Regions from separate parts of the Homo sapiens genome. Here region 1 is linked to region 2. Evidence: promoter capture Hi-C in 16 types of primary human blood cells and fetal thymus (Javierre and others, 2016). All regions are on one chromosome and are shown on one strand. The core of a region is centred on a gene start or on the middle of the fragment in contact, and the rest is flanking DNA. Distances in the headings are between cores, read along the strand shown. Region 1 has its middle 10 kb from the start of FAM13B. Region 2 holds the start of CDC25C (cell division cycle 25C).

Region 1 (6,367 bases), core at 3,806-6,305, 290 kb after region 2:
CAGGAGCAAACTAAGGCCAGAGACTACCACTTACACTTCCTGTTGTTTCCAACTTTTAAAATTCCAAAATGAAAACATATACAAGAAAGACAGAAAACAGAAATGCACAAAAAGAAAAATTCTAAAGGAAACACCTGTGTAGCCACCATCCAATTAGGGAAAGAGAAAATAGACAATGCCCCTTCCTCAAAGCTCGCCTTGTGGCTCTTGTCTGTCACATACCACCTCTCTCTTCTTAGAGATAAACCACCATCCTGACTTTTACAGTAATCAGTTGCTTGGCAGTTACTACTCTGTGTTAGTACATTTTCACACTGCTGATAAAGACATACCAGAGACTGGGCAATTTACAAAAGAAACAGGTTTATTGGACTTAACAGTTCCACGTGCCTGGGGAGGCCTCACAATCATGGTTGAAGGAAGGAGGAGCAAGTCACATCTTATGTGGATGGCAGCAAGCAAAGAGAGAGCTTGTGCAGAGAAACTCCACCTTATAAAAACCACCAGATCGTGTGAGCCTTATTCACTATCACGAGAACAGCATGGGAAAGACTTGCCCCCGTGATTCAATTACTTCCCACTGCATCCCTCCCACAACATGTGAGAATTCAAGATGAGATTTGGGTGGGGACACAGCCAAACCACATCATACTCTTTATAATTTTTTTTTTTTTTTGAGATGGAATTTCACTCTTGTTGCCCAAGTGGGAGTGCAGTGGTGCCATCTTGGCTCACTGCAACCTCTGCCTCCTGGGTTCAAGTGATTCTCCTGCCTCAGCCTCCAGAGTAGCTGGGATTACAGGCACCTACCACCACGCCTGGCTAATTTTTGTATTTTTAGTACCTCCACCTGCCTCAGCCTCCCAAAGTGCTGGGATTACAGGTGTGAGCCACTGTGTCTGGCCACTGTTTGTAATTTTACCACCTGTGTACGTACCTCTGACTAGTTTTGTCTGATTTTGAACTTTATAAAAGAGCCATTCTGTAGGTTTCTTTTGTATTTTATTTACCTTCTTTATTGCTATGATTCAACAATGCGGTTACCTGTAGGTCTAAGTTTATTCATCCTTTTTTTCTTTTTTTGTTTTTGAGATGGGGTCTGGCTCTGTTGCCCAGGCTGAAGTGCAATGGTACAGTCTTGGCTCACTGCAGCCTCTGCCTCCCAGGCTCAAACCATCCTCCCACTCAGCCTCCTGAGTAGCTGCGATTACAGGTGTGTGCCACTGTGCTTGGCTAATTTTTGTATTTTTTGTAGAGATAGGGTTTTGCCATGTTACCCAGGCTTGTCTCGAACTCCTGAGCTCAAGTGATCTGCCTGCCTCAGCCTCCCAAAGGGCTAGGATTACAGGTATGAGCCACCATGCCTGGCCTCATTCTTTTCTCATTCTTGTATGTATTTCCTTGTATGGTCTATCCTTCTGTGGCTGGAGTGTTTTGTTTCCATTTTTGGACTATTAGAATTAATGCAGATGTGAACATTTTTATACCTATATTCTGCTACCTTTGTGCACACAGATCTCCAGAGTATATACTCAGGAGTGGAACTGTTTAGTTCTAGAGATATTATGTTTTCAATTTTAGAATTTACACTGCTACTAGCAGTGAAAGAGATTCTGCTCTTCCACATCACTTGATACTATCAGACTTACTAATTTTGGCCATGCTGGCGAGTTTATTATGGTGGATGTAAAGTTGTATTTTTTAGTTTGCGTTTCCCTGATTACTAATGTGGTTGAGTATTTTTCATACATGTGTTGGCCATTTGGATTTCCTTTTATGATGCAATCCCTATAAAAAGTTTATTTTTGTAATTTCATATTAGATTGTCTTTTTAAAAAATTTAAAATTTATTTCCAGAAGTTCTCTATATCATGTAGATAGTAGTCCTTTTTGGGTTGAATGTTTTGTAGCTAACTTTTCCAGTCTTTTGGCTTGAACTTTCACTTTTTTAATGGTGTCAAATGTAAAATAGCTGAATTTATCAATCCTTACTGTACCGTGAAAAGGTTGTGTTTTATTTAAGAATCACGAAGACATTGTCTTATATTATCCGTTTTTTTTTTTTTTTTCGAGATGGAGTCTTGCTCTGTCGCCCAGGCTGGAGTGCAATGGTGTGATCTTGGGTCACTGCAACCTCCGCCCCCTGGGTTCAAGTGATTCTCCTGCCTCAGCCTCCTGAGTAGCTGGAATTACAGGCGTGTGCCACCATGCCTGGCTAATTTTTGTATTTTTATTAGAGACTGGGTTTCACCACATTGGTCAGGCTGGTCTCGAACTCCTGACCTCAGGTGATCCGCTCACCTTGGCCTCCCAAAGTGCTGGGAATAGAGGCATGAGCCACAGCGCCCGGCCTATTATCTTTTTTTAAAAGCTTACTTTAAAATATCTTTTTTAGGCTGGTGCAGTGGCTCATGCTTGTAATCCTAGCACTTTGGGAGGCTGAAGTGGGAGGATCGCTTGAGGCCAGGAGTTCAAGACCAGCCTGGGCAACATAGCAAGACTTTGTCTCTACCAAAAAAATAAAAAATACATAAAAAAAGCTAGGTGTGACAGCATGTGCCTATAGTTCCAGCTACATAGGAGGTTGAGGTGGGAGGATCACTTGAGCCCAGGAGTTCTGGGCTACCATGAGCTATAATGGAGCCACTGTACTCCAGCCTGGGAGATGGAGTGAGACACTTTCTCTAATAAAAATACCAAAATACCCCCCTTTTCATTGTGCAATATTCATATAGAAAATGTCCTGGCTGGGTATGGTGGCTCATACCTGGTAATCCCAGCACTTTGGGAAGGTGAGGCAAAAGGATTGCTTGAGCCCAGGAGTTTGAGACCAGCCTGGGCAACAGAGAGAGATCCCATTTCTGTTAAAAAAAGAAAAAAAAGAGGCCGGGTGCGGTGGCTGACGCCTATAATTTCAGCACTTTGGGAGGCCGAGGCAGGCGGATCATGAGGTCAGGAGTTCGAGACCAGTCTGACCAACATGGTGAAACCCTGTCTCTACTAAAATACAAAAAATCAGCCGGGCGTGGTGGCGTGCGCCTGTAGTCCCAGCTACTTGGGAGGCTGAGGCAGGGGAATTGCTTGAACCTGAGAGGTGGAGGTTGCAGTGAGCCGAGATCGCACCACTGCACTTCGGCCTGGCGACAGAGCAAGACTCTGTCTCAAAAAAAAAAAAAAAAGAAAGAAAGAAAAAAAAGAATAATGCCCGAACAAGGTAAACACAGGTCAATAATTTATTCTTATTTATTATTTATTTTTTGAGACAGGGTCTCTCTCTGTCATCCAGGGTGGAGTGCAGTGGCACAATCATGGATCACTGCAGCTTTGACCTGGCCTCAAGCAATCCTCCCACCTCAGCCTCCTGAGTAGCTGGGACTACAAGTGTGTTACCATGCCTGGCTAATTTTTAATTTTATTTTTTATAGAGACAGGGTCTCACTATGGTGCTCAGGCTGGTCTCCAATTCCTGGCCTCAAGTGATTCTTGCTGGCCTGGTCAATTTCTTCTTTTGTTGTTGTTCTTTTTTATTTGAGATGGAGTCTGGCTCTGTTGCCCAGGCTGGGATGAAGTGGCACGATCTCAGCTCACTGTAACCTCCACTTCCTGGGTTCGAGTGATTCTTCTGCCTCAGCCTCCCGAGTAGCTGGGACTACAGGCATGCGCCACCACACCCGGCTACTTTTTGTATTTTTAGTAGAAACAGGGTTTCACCATGTTAGCCAGGCTGGTCTTGAACTCCTGGCTTCAGGTGGTCCACCCTCCTCAGCCTCCCAAAGTGCTGGGATTATAGGCATGACCCACCGCGCCTGGCCCCTGGTCAATTTAATACAAAGCAAACACCCATGTAACCACCACAGCTCATATCAAGAATAAGAGCATTCTTATTTTTGTGTCTCCACGAACTCTTGCCCCTCGTTCCCAGAAGAACCAGAACCAGTATCATGATGTCTATGATAGTCACTTCCTGGCTTTTTTTTTTTTTCTTTTAAGTTTTTCCCCTAATTTGTATCCCTAAACATGATGATTTAGTTTTGCTTTTTTTGGGAAACACTGTTATATTTAATTTCAATTAAAGAAAAAACTTAAAAACTTAAGGAGCTAGTTTTTATTTTTAAACTTTTTGAAATATAAAATACATATGGAGAAGTATACAGATCATGAGTACAGCTCACTGAATTGTCCCTAGGTGAACATATATGTGCAACTTCCCCCTAGGTTAAGAAATGGAATATCTTCTCATGACCCCTCCTTATTATTGATTTCTTCCTTCCTCAAAAAGACTTCCCTCCTTAACCACAATTCTGACTTCTAAAATGATAGTTTAGTTTTCCCTGCTTTTGAACTGTTTTTAACGGATTCATACAGTATTTGTTTGTGTCTGGCTTCTTTCATTTATTTTTGTGATTCATCACATTGTTGTTTGTAGCTGTAGTTTGTTCATTTTCATTGTTTACATGGTATGAAGATACCATACTGTATTAATCATTCATCATTCTATCATTGCTATCTACCTGAGCTTGAGTTTCCATTTTTTTCACCAATATAAAAAATGCAGCTATGAACTTCAGGGTCTTCCCCTGTTGTGCAGGCTGGAGTGCAGTGGTGCAGTCATAGTTCACTGTAACCTTGAACTTCCGGGCTCAAAAAATCCTCCTGCCTCAGCCTCCTGACTAGCTGGGATTACAGGTGCAAACCACTGTGCCTGGCTATTAATATTTTTTTTTTTTTTGAGACAGGGTCTTGCTCTGCCACCCAGGCTGGAGTGCGGTGGTGCTTACTGCAGGCTTGAATTACCAGGTTCAGGTGATTCTCCTGTCTCAGTACCACCCCCCACCCCCAATTTTTTTTTTTGAGATGGGGTCTTGCTATGTTGCCCAGGCTGGTTTCAAACTCCTGGCCTTAAGCAATCCTCCTGCCTTGGCCTCCCAAAGTGCTGGGATTATGGGTGTGAACCACCATGCCCAGCTCTTTGACTTTTAATTAGGAATTAATATATTTACACTGATTGTAATTACTCATATTTGAATTTATTTCTGCTATCTAATGTTTTACTATTTGTCCTCCTTAAACATTTTTTATCCATTTTTAAAATTAAGATCTTCCTATTTTATTTTATCCCCCTAATAAACTGGAAGTTATATATACTGTTTAATTTCTTGTACTGATTATGTAGAAATTTTAACATGTATATTTAACTCAACAAATTATAGACTTATTTAGCCTCCTCTTAAACAATACAAAGCCTTCTAATACTTTAATTTACCCTCTCACAATAGTATATGTTAAATTATTGAACAATAGTAGAATTTAGATATTGTTGCCATTATTTTGGATAGTGTTTAGATTTACAGCAAACATGCAAACAATTTTCTTTGTTCACCATTACTTCTCGCATTTTGGATCTTCCTTCTGGAAGATGGTAATTTTCTCTTAACATTTTGAAGATACGCTGCAGTATCATTTGGCTTCTATTGTTACTATTGAAAGGTCAGCTGTCAGCCAAATTATCTTTTCTTTGAAGATTAGTGTCTTTTCTTTTCTTTTTTTTTTTTTTTTTTGAGATGGAGTCTTGCTCTGTTGCCTAGGCTGGAGTGCAGTGGCGCAATCTCAGCTCACTGCAACCTCTGCCTCCCAGGTTCAAGTGATTCTCCTGCCTTAGCCTCTCGAGTAGCTGGGATTACAGGCGTGTGCCACCACACCCAGCTAATTTTTGTAATTTTAGTAGAGGCAGGGTTTTGCCATGTTGGTCAGGCTGGTCTCGAACTCCTGACCTCAGGCAATCTGCTCATGTTGGCCTCCCAGAGTGCTGGGATTACAGGCGTGAGCCACTGTGCCCGGCCTAATGTCTTTTCTTGCTGCCTAATTTTAAGATCCCCTTTCTCTCTGGGTACTAAATTTTATGTGTGCATTTTATACTTTTCAGCATGGCAAGTTTTGGTCTTCCAGAATTTAGGATATTTACCTTCAATTCTGGAAAATGTTCAGCCACTATTTCTTTGAATATTGTCTTCCCTCCATTCTATTATCTCCTTCTTTTTTGTTTGTTTTGTTTTTGAGACGGTGTCTACGTCGCCCAGGCTGGAGTGCAGTGGCGCGATCTCGGCTCACGGTAATCTCCGCCTCCCAGATTCAAGCAATTCTCCTGCCTCAGCCTCCTGAGTAGCTGGGATCACAGGCATGCACCACCATGCCGAGCTAATTTTTTTTAATATTTTTAGTAGAGACAGCGTTTCACCATATTGGCCAGGCTGGTCTGGAATTCCTGACCTTGTGATCGGCCCGCCTCGGCCTCCCAAAGTGCTGGGATTACAGGCTTGAGCCACCGTGCCCGGCCTTTTTTTTTTTTTTTTTTTTTTTTTGAGACAGA
Region 2 (6,267 bases), core at 3,059-5,558:
GGGATTCCAGGTGTGAACCACCACACTTGACCTACATACTTTGATATATATTCTCATTTTTTCTTACAATCATCAAATGAAACAAAACCTTCTCTTTGACAAATGAAACAGCCCAAGAAGTTAAGTGACTGCCCACATGGTAGGCAAAGGTACTCTCAAAAAGCAGTCTAAAAGCCCTTGCTTTTCACCACTAAGCTGTTCACCTTTTTATTATTAATTAAATTAATAATTTAATTATTATGAATTAAATGGTTGAGTTAAAAGTAGGCATTGGCTCATTTGCAAAACATTGAAAGAAACTGAGACCCAAAACAAAACAAAAAAAACAAAACAAAAAAAAAAACCCTGCAAGTCAAGTTTCAGGCCTCATTTCAAAGGAAGGTTACATCCCCTTTCGTCATCTATAAAATGGCCTCCCAGTGCAGCCCAACACTCCTACCCATAATTAAATCTCCTTATTCCACTTTTAGTTCCCAAGGATTTTTTACTCATGTCCTGCTCTTTCCCTGCTGCCCCCTTTTTAGTCTTTTGTTCTTGAGCCACTGCTTTGAACTGCATCTTAATTATGCCCTCATGGGCCAAACCCCATCTGTGACCCTGCTCCAGTGGGTTTCAGCAAAGGATACTCTCCATCCATATTCTGAGGGCTCCAGGGCCTGGAGCCAGTCATCCAGGAGGTCATCCAAAGGAGTGGAATCCATTGGTTCTAAGACTCTTCATTCCCTGCCTAGGAAGGAACAGCCGAGTTGGAGGAACATGCACTCGATTCAGACCTTCCCTTTTCACCCAGTGAAAGCTAAACCTCTGCAAAGTGGGGAGAAGTAGGGCTAAGCCTACCAGTCATAAAAAGAACCAGGAATAGAAAACACACCCCTCAGCCCCTCTGCCCTGCAGAGGCTGGCTGGGAGGATCCCAGGAATGCAGGGCTCTTCTCCACTGCCTGATCTGGGCATCCCAGGAGTGATGGCTGTACCTCCTGTTCTTGTTTGGTGTTTCAGGGTGAAGCCCGGGCTGTCACTGTGCCCTGGCAACAACATGTATGAGTCAGACTGAGGTCAAGGTGAAGGAACACAGCTCACTGCTTATCACAGTGAATCAGGAGCCTAGATAGGGATTCCCCAAGGATGACATAGGATCAATGCCCTCAATCCAACAGAAAAAGTAAATCTTCAAATCAGATTAAACACCAAACTTCCCACCTCCCTAATATTCTTTCTTCTGGGAAGGATAACTTAGATATATTCCAACACCCTCATAAATCAAGATATAAAAGACAATATTTGACTTCCCTTTAAAATAATTCTACCATTTCACAGTTTGTATGTATGCATGTAAACTTACATGTAATTAGCTAAGTATGTTGCAATTAGCTAAGCCAGCTGGAATCATGAGGAGATAGTGAAAATGTTTGCTAGGAAAACAACCTCATTAACAAACGTAGAGCTTTTAAGAGTTTTGTTGGCTGGGCATGGTGGCTCACACCTGTAATCCCAGCACTTTGGGAGGCCGAGGTGGGTGGATTACCTCAGGTCAGGAGTTTGAGACCAGCCTGGCCAACACAGCGAAACCCTGTCTCAACTAAAAATACAAAAATTAGCCAGGTGTGGTGGCGCATGCCTGTAATCCCAGCTACTCAGGAGGCTGAGGCAAGAGAATCACTTGAACAGAGGTTGCAGTGAGCTGAGATTGCGCCATTGCACTCCAGCCTAGGCAACAAGAAAGAAACTGTCTCAAAAAAAAAAAGTTTTTTTGTTGTTGTTTTTAGGAGACAGTCTCACTATGTTGCCCAGGCTGGCCTCAAACTCCTGGGCTCAAGTGATCCTCCCAAGTAGCTGGGACTACAGGCGCACCACTGCATCTGTAAAAAGTCTTAAGGGCGGCCGGGCGCAGTGGCTCATGCCTGTAATCCCAGCACTTTGGGAGGCCGAGGTGGGTGGATCATTTGAGGTCAGGAGTTCCAGAACAGCCTGGACAATATGGTGAAACCCCACCTCTATTAAAAATACAAAAATCAGCCAGGCGTGGTGGCGGGCACCTGTAGTCCCAGCTACTCGGGAGGCTGAGGCAGGAGAATAACTTGAACCCAGGAGGCAGAGGTTGCAGTGGGCCAAGATTGCGCCACTGTACTCTAGCCCGGGAGAGAGCGAGACTCCATCTTAAAAAAAAAAAAAATACTCTTAAGAGCTAGGTGTATAAGTTCCATTTGAGAAATCTCAGAAACTTATTTTTGGGGCTAGATTTTTGGAGAATTTGTTTTAGGAATGCTGCAACTTTGTCAGAGTGCTCAGATTTTAGTATATTTCCATCACCTGACATTGAACTAAAGCCACTTGGCTGACACCTTTGTTGTGACCACCCACAACTGCACTTACTTGAGGACCTGGTGCAGAAAGCACTGGTAGCCAGGTGTGCACTTGCCATAATCTATCTGCTTTTGCCACCAATAGAGAATAACTTTGTCTCTACTTCCCACCTGCAGGGAAGTATACAATTTCCCACAAAGTGTGATTATACTGTAGTCGTCAAAGCAGATAACAACTCATCCCACACTCCCTTAATCCCCAGCCTGATTTTCAAACTCACCTGGCATAGCAAGGTTCTGTGCTAACTCCTACACTCACTGTCTGTATCCTAGAGGACAAAGAATCTTCACACATCTCCTTTCTGGGGAAGCAGGTTCTGCAGATGAAAAGGGTATTAGGATAAAAACCAGCTGGCTACACTGTGCCTCTCAGCCACTACCACCACCAAGATCCTGACAACAGACACAAGTTGCATTTTGACTTTTGTTTCTCAAAGCATGATCTGCAAGCCGTCTGCATGGGTAGCACCTGGGGGCCTTGATAATGACCCCACTTTAGACCTATCGAATTATCGTTTTTGGAGCCTACATCTTAAAGAGCTTCCAAGGTTATTTTGAACATTTTTATTATGGAAATTTTCAAATATACATTGAAGTAAGAAGTATGGGGTAATACCTTACCACGCAAAGTATGGTCGTAGGACCAGCTACCTCACCATCAGCTGGGGGCTTGTTAGAAGGGCAGAATCTTGGGCCGCAACCGCAACCCAGACATCCCGAATCAGAATCTGCATTTAGCAGGTCCTCAGGTGGTTAGTGTGCAAATTAAACCTTGAGAAGCACAGATATGATGGACCCTCCTGCCCCCATCACTCAACAGTCAGGGTCAATCTTGTATCATCAATACCTTCCCCCAGCACAGGATTATTTAAAAGCAAATCCCTAACATTAGGAATGTCTTTTTGTTTGTTTCACTCTAATGCCCAGGCTGGAGTGCAGTGGCGCAACCTCTGTCTCCCGAGTTCAAGCAGTTCTCATGCCTCAGCCTCCCAAGTAGCTGGGATTACAGGTGTGTGCCACCACAACCGGCTAAATTTTGTATTTTTAGTAGAGACGGGGTTTCATCATGTTGGCCAGGCTGGTTTTGAACCCCTGACCTCATGTAATCTGCCCGCCTCGGCCTCCCAAAGTGCTGGGATTACAGGTGTGGGCCAACGCGTCCGGCCAATAATTTATAAATATCACCTCGTCAATGTTCAAATTTTCATTAATAACCAATCTTTGAGGTCCTCTGGATTGCGATAAGGATTATACCAAGATGATTTAATTCCTCCACTTTCCCTGCAACGGAATTTCTTTTTACCCACGTGAGCTAGAGTCTCTGAGATGCTGCACACTAAAAGAAACACCAAACAAAGCTCTTGGAAGGGGCTAATGCCTCTCAGCATAAACACACACACCCGTCTCGCCCCAACACTTGCCACGCCGGCAGCAAACGCTCCATCTCCCGTGGAAGGCCAGCAAAACTTAGAAGAAAACGTCCGCGAAAACGGCACGAGAAAGAAGCGAAGAAAATGAAACGCTTACAACACCCTCCACCCAAAATAATCTCTCCTAGTATTACCCTAGTGAATGGACATCACTAGTAAGGCGCGGTTTAAATCTCCCGGGGTTCGTGGGGCTGAGGGAACGAGGAAAACAGAAAGGGTGTGGAGATTGGTGAGAGGGAGAGCCAATGATGCGCCAGGCTCCCCGTGAGGCGGAGCTTACCCCGCAGCCTGCCTAACGCTGGTGGGCCAAACACTATCCTGCTCTGGCTATGGGGCGGGGCAAGTCTTACCATTTCCAGAGCAAGCACACGCCCCCAGGTGATCTGCGAGCCCAACGATAGGCCATGAGGCCCTGGGCGCGCGCGCGGAGATTGGCTGACGCAGCTTAGAGGCGAGCGGGGATAGGTTACTGGGCTGGCGGAAGGTTTGAATGGTCAACGCCTGCGGCTGTTGATATTCTTGCTCAGAGGCCGTAACTTTGGCCTTCTGCTCAGGGAAGACTCTGAGTCCGACGTTGGCCTACCCAGTCGGAAGGCAGAGCTGCAATCTAGTTAACTACCTCCTTTCCCCTAGATTTCCTTTCATTCTGCTCAAGTCTTCGCCTGTGTCCGATCCCTATCTACTTTCTCTCCTCTTGTAGGCAAGCCTCAGACTCCAGGCTTGAGGTAAGTCCGCAGCCGTCTCCGCCACGGAATCACGGAGACCCCATTGTCCCCCTTAGGGTCCAGTCGGGCCCCCACAGACAGAGGTTGGGAGGGCCGAATGGGGACTATCGCGAGTTACGAGACCCGGGTTCTTTCTAGTCAGGAGTCTCGAGCTGTGTGGCGTGGAACAAGTCAAAATCCTCTCTTCATTCCATCTTTAAGGTCCTAAGGTTGCCTCTCGTCGGTGAATTCAGGTTCTAACCTTAAGCCAGGCTGTGAATCACCCTTCGGGGTTGCCCCTCTTCCAGTGTTGATTCGCCTGGCTGGAAAGGGTGGAGGAGTTTAGGAAAGCTGAGGGAACTGTGATGTACCGATTTAGATGACGTTTTCCTCCTAGCTAGGTTTTGTTTTTCTCCTGGTGAGAATTCGAAGACCATGTCTACGGAACTCTTCTCATCCACAAGAGAGGAAGGAAGCTCTGGCTCAGGACCCAGTTTTAGGTCTAATCAAAGGAAAATGTTAAACCTGCTCCTGGAGAGAGACACTTCCTTTACCGTCTGTCCAGATGTCCCTAGAACTCCAGTGGGCAAATTTCTTGGTGATTCTGCAAACCTAAGCATTTTGTCTGGGTAAATATACTTTTATTTTTACACTGTATTGCCTTTGCTATTTCCAAACAGTTGGGTTTGTTTGTTGGTTTGTTTTCAATTATCCCGGCTCAAAGGTCAGGCTTTAAGTCTCAACTCTGCCCTTGACTGTGTAACCCTTTTGAGTCTCACCTTCTTTTCTGTGACAAGAAATAATCTCAGCCAGGCGAGGTGGCTCATGCCTGTAATCTCCGCACTTTGGGAGGCCAAGGAGGGCGGATCGCCTGAGTCTAGGAGTTCAAGACCAGCCTGGGCAACATGGCAAGACGCCGTCTCTACAAAAAATATTAAAAGTTAGCTGAGTGTGGTGGTGTGCACCTATAGTCCCAGCAACTCGGGAGGCTGAGGTGGGAGGATTGCTTGAGCCCGGGAGGTGGAGGCTGCAGTTAGCCAAGATCGCCTCACTGCACTTCAGCCTGGGAAACAGAGTGAGACTCTATCTCAAAAAGAAAAGAAAAGACAAAGAAATAATAATCGCTTCCTATCTTACTAGGATCTTGTGAGAATCAAATGATGTGATAACTGGGAAAAGTCTTTGAAAACCGCTGCATTACGAGTCGGTCACTTTATTAGTATTAATATTAGTGTTATTGCAGTTGTACTTTGAATTCTGATCATACCATGTCTCAACTAGCAAAGAGAAGTAGTACCTGAGAAAAACTAGGGACCCCAGGGAGAAATCAAGCCTGTGTTCATAGTGCTCAGGACCGGGAATGTGGAGTCAAGATCCCCCTCGGCCAATAAACTCTGGGCCTCATTTAAAAAAAAAAAAATTATCTGTTTCAGTATGTTGGTAAGGAGAAAATAAAGTACAGATTATGGTAGTGGGAGATTTTTCTCAGCCCAGTCTGATATATTTCCCAAAAGCAATTAGATTTATTTGGACACTGTTCAGATGATCTGATAGTCATTAAGGGGTGTTTCAAATGAACAGGCTTGGCCAGGCGTTGTGGCTCACACCTGTAATCCCAGCACTTTGGAAGGCCGAGGTGGGTGGATCACCTGAGGTTAGGAGTTTAAGACCAGCCTGGCTGACATGGTGAAGCCCCATCTCTACTACAAATACAAAAATTAGCTGGGCGTGGTGGCAGGCGCCTGTGATCCCAGCTATTTGGGAGGCTGAG

Evidence for each region. Contacts are between HindIII fragments. The CHiCAGO score rates a contact against its expected background, and 5 or more counts as called.
Region 1: a contact is called between a fragment that was not itself captured here and the fragment with the promoter of CDC25C in region 2, in 1 of 17 cell types (neutrophils). The highest score is 5.0, in neutrophils.

The regions. Positions count from the first base shown.
Region 1 is chr5:138,040,255-138,046,621 of GRCh38, reverse strand. It overlaps a transcript of FAM13B not described here. Among named protein-coding and RNA genes, the nearest start is that of FAM13B, 10 kb to the right of the region's middle. The HindIII fragment of the contact is 5,363 bases long and covers 2,374-6,367 here.
Region 2 is chr5:138,329,845-138,336,111 of GRCh38, reverse strand. It overlaps CDC25C (cell division cycle 25C), which reads left to right and starts at 4,308. Exons shown (of 14, transcript NM_001790.5): 1 at 4,308-4,517; 2 at 4,894-5,125. The coding sequence starts at 4,932. LOC100128966 (a long non-coding RNA gene) reads right to left here and starts at 4,007. Exons shown (of 4, transcript NR_146628.1): 1 at 3,927-4,007; 2 at 2,584-2,679; 3 at 627-727. RefSeq lists a silencer at 3,986-4,245 and enhancers at 4,296-4,345, 4,356-4,485, 4,197-5,150. The HindIII fragment of the contact is 22,786 bases long and covers 1-6,267 here.